Regions from separate parts of the Homo sapiens genome. Here region 2 is linked to region 1. Evidence: promoter capture Hi-C in human tissues and cell types (Jung and others, 2019). All regions are on one chromosome and are shown on one strand. The core of a region is centred on a gene start or on the middle of the fragment in contact, and the rest is flanking DNA. Distances in the headings are between cores, read along the strand shown. Region 1 holds the start of LOC101927522 (a long non-coding RNA gene). Region 2 holds the start of IGFLR1 (IGF like family receptor 1).

Region 1 (5,147 bases), core at 697-3,196:
TGGGACCCTGTTGGCAAGGAAAAAGGGGAGAGTTCCAAAATTATACAGATCTTGAATAGCAAATATGGGGAGCAAAACCAATTATAAGCCTAAAATATCTATGGTAGCCATAGGAAGATGTGGGATTTTAGAGGGGGCTTTTATCAATTGTGTTATTAACAGGTAACATACATACAAAAAGGTGAGCTCAACTTAGGGATACAGCTGGATGCATGTTAACATATCTGTACATTTGTGTATGACCACCCAGGTTGAGATGCAGGCCATTTTCAGCACCCTAGAGGCCCTTTTATTCCCTCTCAGTCAGCAAACCTTCCACTCCTAAGATAACCACTTTTCCAGCTTCTACCTCTTTTTTTTATCTATTTATTTTATTTATTTATTTATTTATTTATTTTTGTGAGACAGGGTCTCTGTAGAGTGAGTGCTCATATGAGCACTCCCAGGCTGGAGTGCAGTGGTGCGATCTTGGCTCACTACAACCTCTGCCTCCCGGTTTCAAGCAATTCTTCTGCTTCTGCCTCCCGAGTAGCTGGGGTTACAGGCGCATGCCAACACACCCAGCTAATTTTTATATTTTTAGTAGAGATGGGGTTTCGCCATGTTGGACAGGCTGATCTCAAACTCCTGACCTCAAGTGATCTGCCCACCTCCGCCTCCCAAAGTGCTGGGATTACAGGCATGAGCCACCATGCTCGGCCTTGTTTCTATTTTCTTTGACACAAGCACTGTTTATCTTCCAGTGTAAGAACGCAATCAACCATAGCACTGTGGGATAGCAGCCAGGAGGCTGGCTGTATCCTGCTGCAGCAGCCACCACACATGGAGGGCGGAGGGACAGCCACCCTGTTGTGTAGCTCGGAGCAGCTGTGTCCTTCAGTGCAGGTCCAGCCAAGAGCCGTGGGCCACAGATGACGCTGGTGGGGAAGCAGAGGGCAGACTAGGCAGAGGCAAGGCTTTCCTGTGCCCTGAGCTGTCAGAGATGGGCCAGGGCCTTCAGCTTCCTCGATAGGGCAGAAGTGACCACGCTGGCTCCATTCAGCAAAGGACGTGGACGGAGCTGCCGGGCTTGTCTGAGAGGAGGAGAAATGTGGAATTGAGTGAGGCTCTCTAAGAAGGTTCTGCTGGAGTTGAGAAAAATTAGGGTGAGGCACCTCCCCGATTTTATGTCCTTTTTCCTGGGTCCAGCCTCCTGAACAGCTACCATTCGCTTCTGTGAGACACCTGTCGGTGCCTCCTTTTCCAGCCCTTAATGGAACGGTGAGTGAGGTTCCCTGACTGGGGTGGAGTCTGCTTGTGAGTTTCCCCATCCCATGTCTCTCTGACTCCTGCTCCAACTCCTTACTTCGCCAGTTCCTCTCCCAGCCACCTCAGACTTCCCATACCACCCTCCCTGGACAGGAAGCGTTTTTACAGGAGTTTGAAGCTTCAGGAGTGCCCTCCGGCCACATGAAGACAAGGCGCTAACAAACATGGCGTTCTGCAAATTGCACCATCGCCAACTCCTGTCTTACTCTCACAGAGGTCTCTTGGGCTCTTCTGAGAAGGGTGAATGAACTTGGTTGGAGGGAAGAGAGGGGTTTGGTGGCTCTTAGTAAAATTGCTTCACGCAGTGACCTTTGGCAGTTTAGGATAATAACCTGTGCAGAGAGAGGGTCTCCTGTCCTGAAGTCACAGCCCGGATCTCCAGGCTGGCTCTGCTGCCTCTGAATGATTTGTGGGTCACACACGCCAACAGCATCGCCAAGGGCTGACATCAGCCTGCTTGAGCCACGGAAACTGAATGGGCAAGGATGAGTTCCCCAGCACAGAGGGAGGCATCCTCTGTCAAGACCATCTGCGCATGTGCTGTGCAGTCTCCAGTCTGCACTGTGAGGTTAGTACTTCTTCCTCTCTCTAGAAAGTGTAATGGGGGCCAGGCATGATGGCCCACACCTGTAATCCTAGCACTTTGCGAGGCTGAGGTGGGCGGATTGCCTGAGCTCAGGAGTTTGAGACCACCCTGGGCAACATGGTGAAACCCTGTCTGTACTAAAATACAAAAAAATTTAGCTGGGTGTGGTGGCGGGCATGTGTAATCCCAGTGACTCAGGAGGCTGAGGCAGGAGAATCGCTTGAACCCGGGAGGCAAAGGTTGCAGTGAGCCGAGATCATGCCACTGTACTCTAGCCTGGGCAAAAGAGCGAGACTGGCTCAAAAGAAAGCATAACAGAATACTCATAACTGACAGTGACGTTGTAACAGCTTACCTTATATCCTCTCATTTCTTTGTTTACTTAAACTTCCAAAGCCTAGTTTTTTCAGTATTACCAGGAACCATGGACTTACATTTCTTGCCTCTTGGTGTGTTGCCACATCCCAGCAGTGTGTCTCAACGGCTTTTGAGAACTGCTTCGAGAGGGGACCAGATGCGCAGAGACAAGCTTCCAGCCTGGCTAGGGACGGACCCTCTGGGGATGCTCCTCTCTGGCCGGGCAGCAGTAGAAGCACCTGCCTCCATCCACATCCAGACGCCATTCCCTTTTCTTCACCGCTGCTTCCCATCAGATGGTCCCCAGGAGTGGCAACCTCCCACTTGGTCTCGCAGGAGTCCCAGTGCTTCTCAGGTGTGTGTGCCACATCCCTCTTCTCTGAACACACAGTGGTCAGGGTGCCTGCACAGGGAAGGGCACCACAGTCCACCCTGGGAAAGGTCTTCAGTCTTCGGGAAAGAGCCTGTAAGCACCTTGACTGCTCTTCTTCTCTAGGGCAGAGAGCTTTCTTATCCACAGGGGTCCTTAGTCAGAGAGAGGGAGCGCACTCGGTGAGCTCTTTCAGAGGCAGCAGAGCCCTCTGCCTCTCCCCAAATCCCTGCTCCTACAAGTCGAATTAATCTCTCCTAGAAATCCAAGTCCTAACTTCTTCCAGGCGTCTTTTTACATCCACTGTTTGCATAGCCCACCCTTTCTTCTTTGGAGGATCCCCTCAGGTAACTTCCATCTGCTCCTCAGTGTGTCTTACCCCTTCCTTCTGTTCTTTCTTCACCTCCCTCCCTCTCCACCTCCACACTGGACTATATCAAATTCCTGTTCATTTTTTAGCATGGCCCAGTCAAAGCAGGTTAATCTCTCAGTCAGCAGAGGACATTTCACAAAAATTGGGGCCGCTAAATCACAAAAATATTCTCTAAGTCCAGGGCCAGCCCAGAAAAAATGCCCCAAGTCCAGGCAGCCCCCCAGAGTCTGCCGCCGTCTGGAAAATCCGGCTCAGCTCTTGCTCCTGCACATCCTCTCCTTTCCAGTGCTCTGTGTCTGGTCCCTGTCCCACCTCCTCTCCTTTCCCCAGTGTCTTCTGTCTGAATTCTGTGGGCCCAGGACAGCCCCAGCCTTCTCAAAGTCACCTGCATGTCTCTTGGATTAGGCAGCTGAGTGCAAGGTAACAACCAGATCATGCATTTTCATCTCTCCATGGATGGTTGGGGATAGAGCATCACAAGACAGGCATTGTGGCTGGGTGTGTTGGCTCATGCCTATGATCCCAGCACTTGGTGGGAGACCAAGGCAGGTGGATTGCTTGAGCTCAGGAGTTCAAGACCAGCCTGGGTAACATGGTGACACCTGATCTCTACAAAAAAATACAAAAATTAGCCAGATGTGGTAGTGCATGCCTTTAGTTCCAGCTACTCAGGAAGCTGAGGTCAGAGGATCACTTGAGCCCAGGAGATCAAAGCTGCAGTGAGCCTAGATTGTGCCACTGCACTCTAGCCTGTGGGACAGAGTGAGACCCTGATTTTTTTTTTTTTTAAAGGCAGACATGGTTCTTGCCTTCATGAAATTGACATTGTAGTTGTGGGGAGGGGTGAGACACTAGTACAGTCTCTACAGTAATATAGGAGGTAATGTGGGGCACGCTTTCGGAAGGAAATAGAATTGGATGATAGAATAGGGTAATCTGTGCTGGGGGCAGCAGGGAAATGTCCTTGAAGGGGTGACATTTGAGCCGAGGCCTGTAGGTGCTCTCCATGGAAGAGCTGGGAGAGGAACACTCGGGGCAGATGGGACATTTTTTGCAAAGGCCCTGAGGCGATACGAAGCTTGGTGTGATGGAGAAACCGAAAGGAGGCCAGTGTGGCTGGGGGGGTGGGGTGGGAATGAGCATGAGGGAAGTGATGGGAAACCAGGTCAGAGACGTGACAGCTGGGGGTGGAGGGGGTGGAGGGAAAACACATGGTGCAGGGCCCTGTTGTCCAAGGTGAGGATTTGGATTTTATTCCCAAAGTCATAGGAAACTCTTGAAGGGTATAAGGCAGAGGAGTAAGTGATCTGATGTATGGGTTTCATTTCTTTTATCATGTTTTATTTTCTTTCTTTATTTTTGTATGATGTGTGGGTTTTAAGGATTCCTCTGGCTTCCTGTTTTGTGCAAGTGTCTTGCCCCACTGTCTGTCAAAACTTTCTTCTTTCCCTGCCATTAGGGAAGCCCTCATGATTCAGCAGCTGCTCATTTCTCTTTCTCTCTCTCTCTCTATCTCTTCTGGCTTCACCGTCCTCCTGCAGTTGAATCCAAAGCTCATACCAATCTCTGCACAACAGCCAATAAATCAAGAGACGAGATATTGGGGGAAGGAAAAATGACATTATTTCAGAGAGCCAGCAGACTGAGGAGATAGCAGACCTAGTGTCTTGAGAACAATCTTAAGTAATAGAATTTTGGGCTCCTTTTACATTAGGGAAGGGGGAAGAGAGTGAGGTTTAAGATCAAGAGGTGACCGATGATAGCGGACATCTGGGTGGCAGTGAGTGTCCGAGGAGGGGCACTGTGCAACTTCTTTGTCCTGCTGAGGTCACAATGTTCCTATAAATCTTTAATATGATGTAGCTGCTAGTGTGTACACCCTCCTTATCTCCTTGGGGGTGAGTGTTGGGAAGGGATTATTGTCATCCTTGCTTTAAAGTTAAACTGTAAACTAAATTCTTCCCATGATTAGCTTGGCTGATGTGCAGGAATGACAAAGACCATTAGCTTGTGAGGTTAGAAGCAGGGTGGAGTCAGCTATGTCAGATTCTGCTGTTACACTCCATGCAGACCCACTTTCTAGATGAGGAGGGGGAGCATAAGTGTACTTTGCGTCTCTTGACTGTCCTCACATCATCTGCTTTTATTATTTT
Region 2 (4,076 bases), core at 166-2,665, 310 kb before region 1:
TGCGGCCCATTTCCCAGAACCTCCAGAGGCAGCTCTATGGGCGGGGACCCAGGCGCAGGTACCTCAGGACCAGCCTGCTATGTCTCCTCATGTCCTAAGGCCCCTATATCCTCAGATGAGCCTAACCCTAAGCCCCAGTAACCACGTTCCCAAGAATCTTTTTTTTTTTTTTTTTTTTTTGAGATGGAGCCTCACTCTGTTGCCCAGGCTGGAGTGCATTGGCACCATCTTGGTTCATGGCAACTTCCGCCTCCCGGGTTCAAGCAATTCTCTGCCTCAGCCTCCCAAATAGCTGGGATTACAGGCACCTGCCACCATGCCCGGCTAATTTTTGTGTTTTTAGTAGAGATGGGGTTTCACCATCTTGGCCAGGCTGGTCTGAACTCCTAACCTCGTGATCCACCTGCCTCACCCTCCCAAAGTGCTGGGATTACAGGCGTGAGCCACCACTCCCGGCTGACTGTTTTTTTTTTTTTTTTTTTTTTTTTTTTTTGAGACGGAGTTTTGCTCTTCTTCCGCAGGCTGGAGTGCAAAGGCGCAGTCTTGGCTCAGTGCAACCTCTGCCTCCCAGGTTCAAGCAATTCTCCTTTCTCAGCCTCCCAAGTAGCTGGGATTATAGGCACCTGCCACCATGCCTGGCTAATTTTTGTATTTTTAGTAGAGATGGGGTTTCACCACGTTGGCCAGCCTGGTCTCGAACTCCGGACCTCAGGTAATCCACCCATCTCGGCCTCCCAAAGTGTGGGGATTACAGGCGTGAACCACTGCGCCCGGTCATTCCCAAGACTCTTATACCCTAAGAGTAGTTCTGAGCTCCATCTGGAGACCAGTACCTAAGTCCCAATCCCCAAACCAGCCTGAACCCCTAATCCACGACCAGCCTGGATTGCCACCCCTGATACTGGCCACTGAGTTCCCCTGATACTGGCCACTGAGGTCGTGTCTTAGAACTCTAGTTATTTCAGCACCCTCCTGCCTCATCCCAGAGCAGAGAGGCAGGCCTGCAGGATCTCTGCACCACTCCTCAGGGTTCTAACAGAACTCTCAACGCTCCTATTCCCAGGTCACCCCCGAGGTTCCATACTGGCCACCATCCCCGAGAGAGGAACCATCGGTGTTCCCCTGATCACTGGCATGGCCGCTTCTGAGGCCCTGGCCCCCTTACCCTTCACCCCCAACAGGGACAGATGTTCCTGGCAGGACCTCTCCTCAAAGCCCCCTTCACTCTCCTGCCCCATCCTTCCCAGGCTCCCGGGCTCCATAATGTAATCTGTTCAGCATGGAGACCTTCTTCTACCGCCCCTGTCTTAATAAAGCTGCGTGTTTCACTTCGGCATCAACTTGCTTTTGCTGTGGTTTGGCATTTCCCTCCACCCACACATGTGACGAAAAGGGGAAACAAGACTGGGTCCTGGCCACAACTTCAGCTGAGGAACTTGGCACGGCCAGCTTGGGACCCAGGACCCTAACGGTACTGGTAGGGTGGGGACACCTTTGTGCTGAAAACCTTAGCACCTCCATCTGAGGCTTATTCAAGGGGGAGAGACCTGGTTGTGGCAGGTGGGAGGAGCCCTAGCCCCAAGGAGATTAGGATTCAAAGGTGAGGTGAGGTGCTGGGAGGTGGTCTCCAGCCAGTATGGGGCTGACTCCTCCGTGCCTGCCGAATTGTGATGGGAGTTAGTAATGCCTTACACTTAAACACTGAGTTTACTGTATGTGAGGTGCTGTTTTCAGCACTTTAGTTTGTTTTTGTTTTTTTTAAGGAGTTTCATTCCTGTTGCCCAGGCTGGAGTGCAATGGCACGATCTCAGCTCACTGCAGCCTCCACTTCCCAGGTTCAAGCAATTCTGCCTCAGCCTCCCAAGTAGCTGGGATTTACAGGCATGCGCTACCACGCCCGGCTAATTTTGTATTTTTAATAGAGACAGGGTTTCACCATGTAGGCCAGGCTGGTTTTGAACTACTGACCTCAGGTGATCCACCCACCTGGGCCTCCCAAAGTGTTGGGATTACAGGCATGAGCCACTGCGCCCGGCGGCCAGTTTTTTTTGTTTTTAGAGATGAGGTCTTGCTGTGTTGCCCAGGCTGGTCTGTAATTCATGGCTCAAGCAATCCTCCTACCTTGGCCTCCCTAGTAGCAGGGACTACAGACGTGAGCCACTGCACTTGGCAAAGTGCTTTGCTGTTTTTTTTTTTTTTTTTTTTTTTTGTAAAGATGGGGTTTCATTTTGTTGTCCAGGCTGATCTCTCGAACTCCTGGGCTCAAGTGATCCTCCTGTCTTGGCCTCCCAAAGTGTTGGGATTACAGGCATGAGCCACCACACCCAGCCCCTGCTTTACTTCTAATGACGGTTCTAATTCTCCACAATAACCCTATGAGACAGGTGCTATCATTGTCTTATTTTAGGGATGGAAAAGGGAGGGTGGGTGGGTGAGGACACGGCAGAGGTGGGATATGCATTCTTGCAATCTAGATCCGCAGCCCTGTTAGTCCCCTAGTGGCCTTGTGGGCTTCTCTGATAACCGGCTCAGTTGGGGGATGAGGGCTCGGGGGTAGATTCCCGGCTTCCGAAGAGGCGTGAGAATTCTGTTCCCCCACATCACCGCGTCCTTTCTTCTGCCCGATTTCCCCGGAAAGTGTAGCAGAGGCGCTGTGTTTGGAAGTCCCGCTATCACGGCCCCCCAGATGGGGCCTGGACGATGCCTCCTGACGGCCTTGTTGCTTCTGGCCCTGGCGCCACCGCCGGAAGCCTCCCAGTACTGCGGCCGCCTTGAATACTGGAACCCAGACAACAAGTGCTGCAGCAGCTGCCTGCAACGCTTCGGGCCGCCCCCCTGCCCGGGTGAGAATCCGAGACCGAGCCTTGCTTGGGCGGAGCTTGCAGGTGATAGGGAGCGGGGAAGGGGCGAGGTCTGTGGGCTACGGGCCAGAGAGGCTTGCTTAGGGGTCTAAGCGGTGGGCCTTATGCAGATCAGACAGGGATGGCAGGCAGAGCCTGTGCAGATAGTGCGGGCTACCGTAGGGCAACAGCGAATGGATATGGCTGGAGAGGCGGGATAGGGGCCGCGTGGAAAGGGTGGGCTTTATGTAGAGAAGCCGGGAGTGGGCGGAGCTTCGTGCGGAGCAGGCTGGAGGGGGGTGAAAAGGCGAGCCCGGAGAAAAGTGACAAGACCGGGGCGCACGCTAATAGGCTGGAAGCGTCCTGGAGGGGCGGGGCACGCTGGGATAGGGCGAAGGGAGAGGGCGTTGCCCGCGCAGGGGCGGGCTAGGCGGCCGCACTGGAGCGCAGCTTTCCCGCTAGACTATGAGTTCCGGGAAAACTGCGGACTCAATGACCACGGCGATTTCGTAACGCCCCCGTTCCGAAAGTGTTCTTCTGGGCAGTGCAACCCCGACGGCGCGGAGCTATGTAGCCCCTGCGGCGGCGGAGCCGTGACCCCTACTCCCGCCGCGGGCGGGGGCAGAACCCCGTGGCGCTGCAGAGAGGTGCAGATGGGACTCCCGGCAGGGCAAGGGCGTGCTGGAGGTGGGGGGCCTAGATGTAGGGAGCCGGCGTAGCCCCACGTAAGGGGTGGGGCCGTGGTTTCAGGAGGTGGCTGGCCTGCAGGGGTCGGGAGGTCCTAGGTTAAGGTAGTTGGGCCTTGCGGGGCCCAACTACCTTATCAGATACCGTATCAGATGGGATGTGGCCCCATTAAAGGATATAAAGTTGGGAGGTTTGGGAGCGGGCAGGAGTGGAGTGTGGCCTCCAGCTTTACTCCAACCCCTTATCCCCAGAGGCCGGTCCCTGCCAAGGGGCACTGCCCCCTCACACCTGGAAACCCAGGCGCCCCTAGCTCCCAGGAGCGCAGCTCACCAGCAAGTTCCATTGCCTGGAGGACCCCTGAGCCTGTCCCTCAGCAGGCCTGGCCGAATTTCCTTCCGCTCGTGGTGCTGGTCCTGCTCCTGACCTTGGCGGTGATAGCGATCCTCCTGTTTATTCTGCTCTGGCATCTCTGCTGGCCCAAGGAGAAAGCCGACCCCTATCCCTATCCTGGCTTGGTCTGCGGAGTCCCCAACACCCACACCCCTTCCT

Evidence for each region. Contacts are between HindIII fragments. The study calls those that stand out against the background at their distance.
Region 2: a contact is called between the fragment with the promoter of IGFLR1 here and a fragment that was not itself captured in region 1, in 1 of the 25 tissues and cell types used here (spleen).

The regions. Positions count from the first base shown.
Region 1 is chr19:35,430,318-35,435,464 of GRCh38, reverse strand. It overlaps LOC101927522 (a long non-coding RNA gene), which reads left to right and starts at 812. Exons shown (of 7, transcript NR_187751.1): 1 at 812-1,145; 2 at 1,627-1,876; 3 at 2,363-2,606. RefSeq lists an enhancer at 1,372-2,571. The HindIII fragment of the contact is 5,373 bases long and covers 1-4,632 here.
Region 2 is chr19:35,739,791-35,743,866 of GRCh38, reverse strand. It overlaps IGFLR1 (IGF like family receptor 1), which reads left to right and starts at 1,415. Exons shown (of 5, transcript NM_024660.4): 1 at 1,415-1,471; 2 at 2,644-2,843; 3 at 3,303-3,487; 4 at 3,779-4,076. The coding sequence starts at 2,687. U2AF1L4 (U2 small nuclear RNA auxiliary factor 1 like 4) reads left to right here. Exons shown (of 6, transcript NM_001040425.3): 5 at 1-58; 6 at 1,064-1,340. The coding sequence ends at 1,148. RefSeq lists enhancers at 1,233-1,662, 3,010-3,119, 3,467-4,076 and a silencer at 3,200-3,329. The HindIII fragment of the contact is 13,678 bases long and covers 1-4,076 here.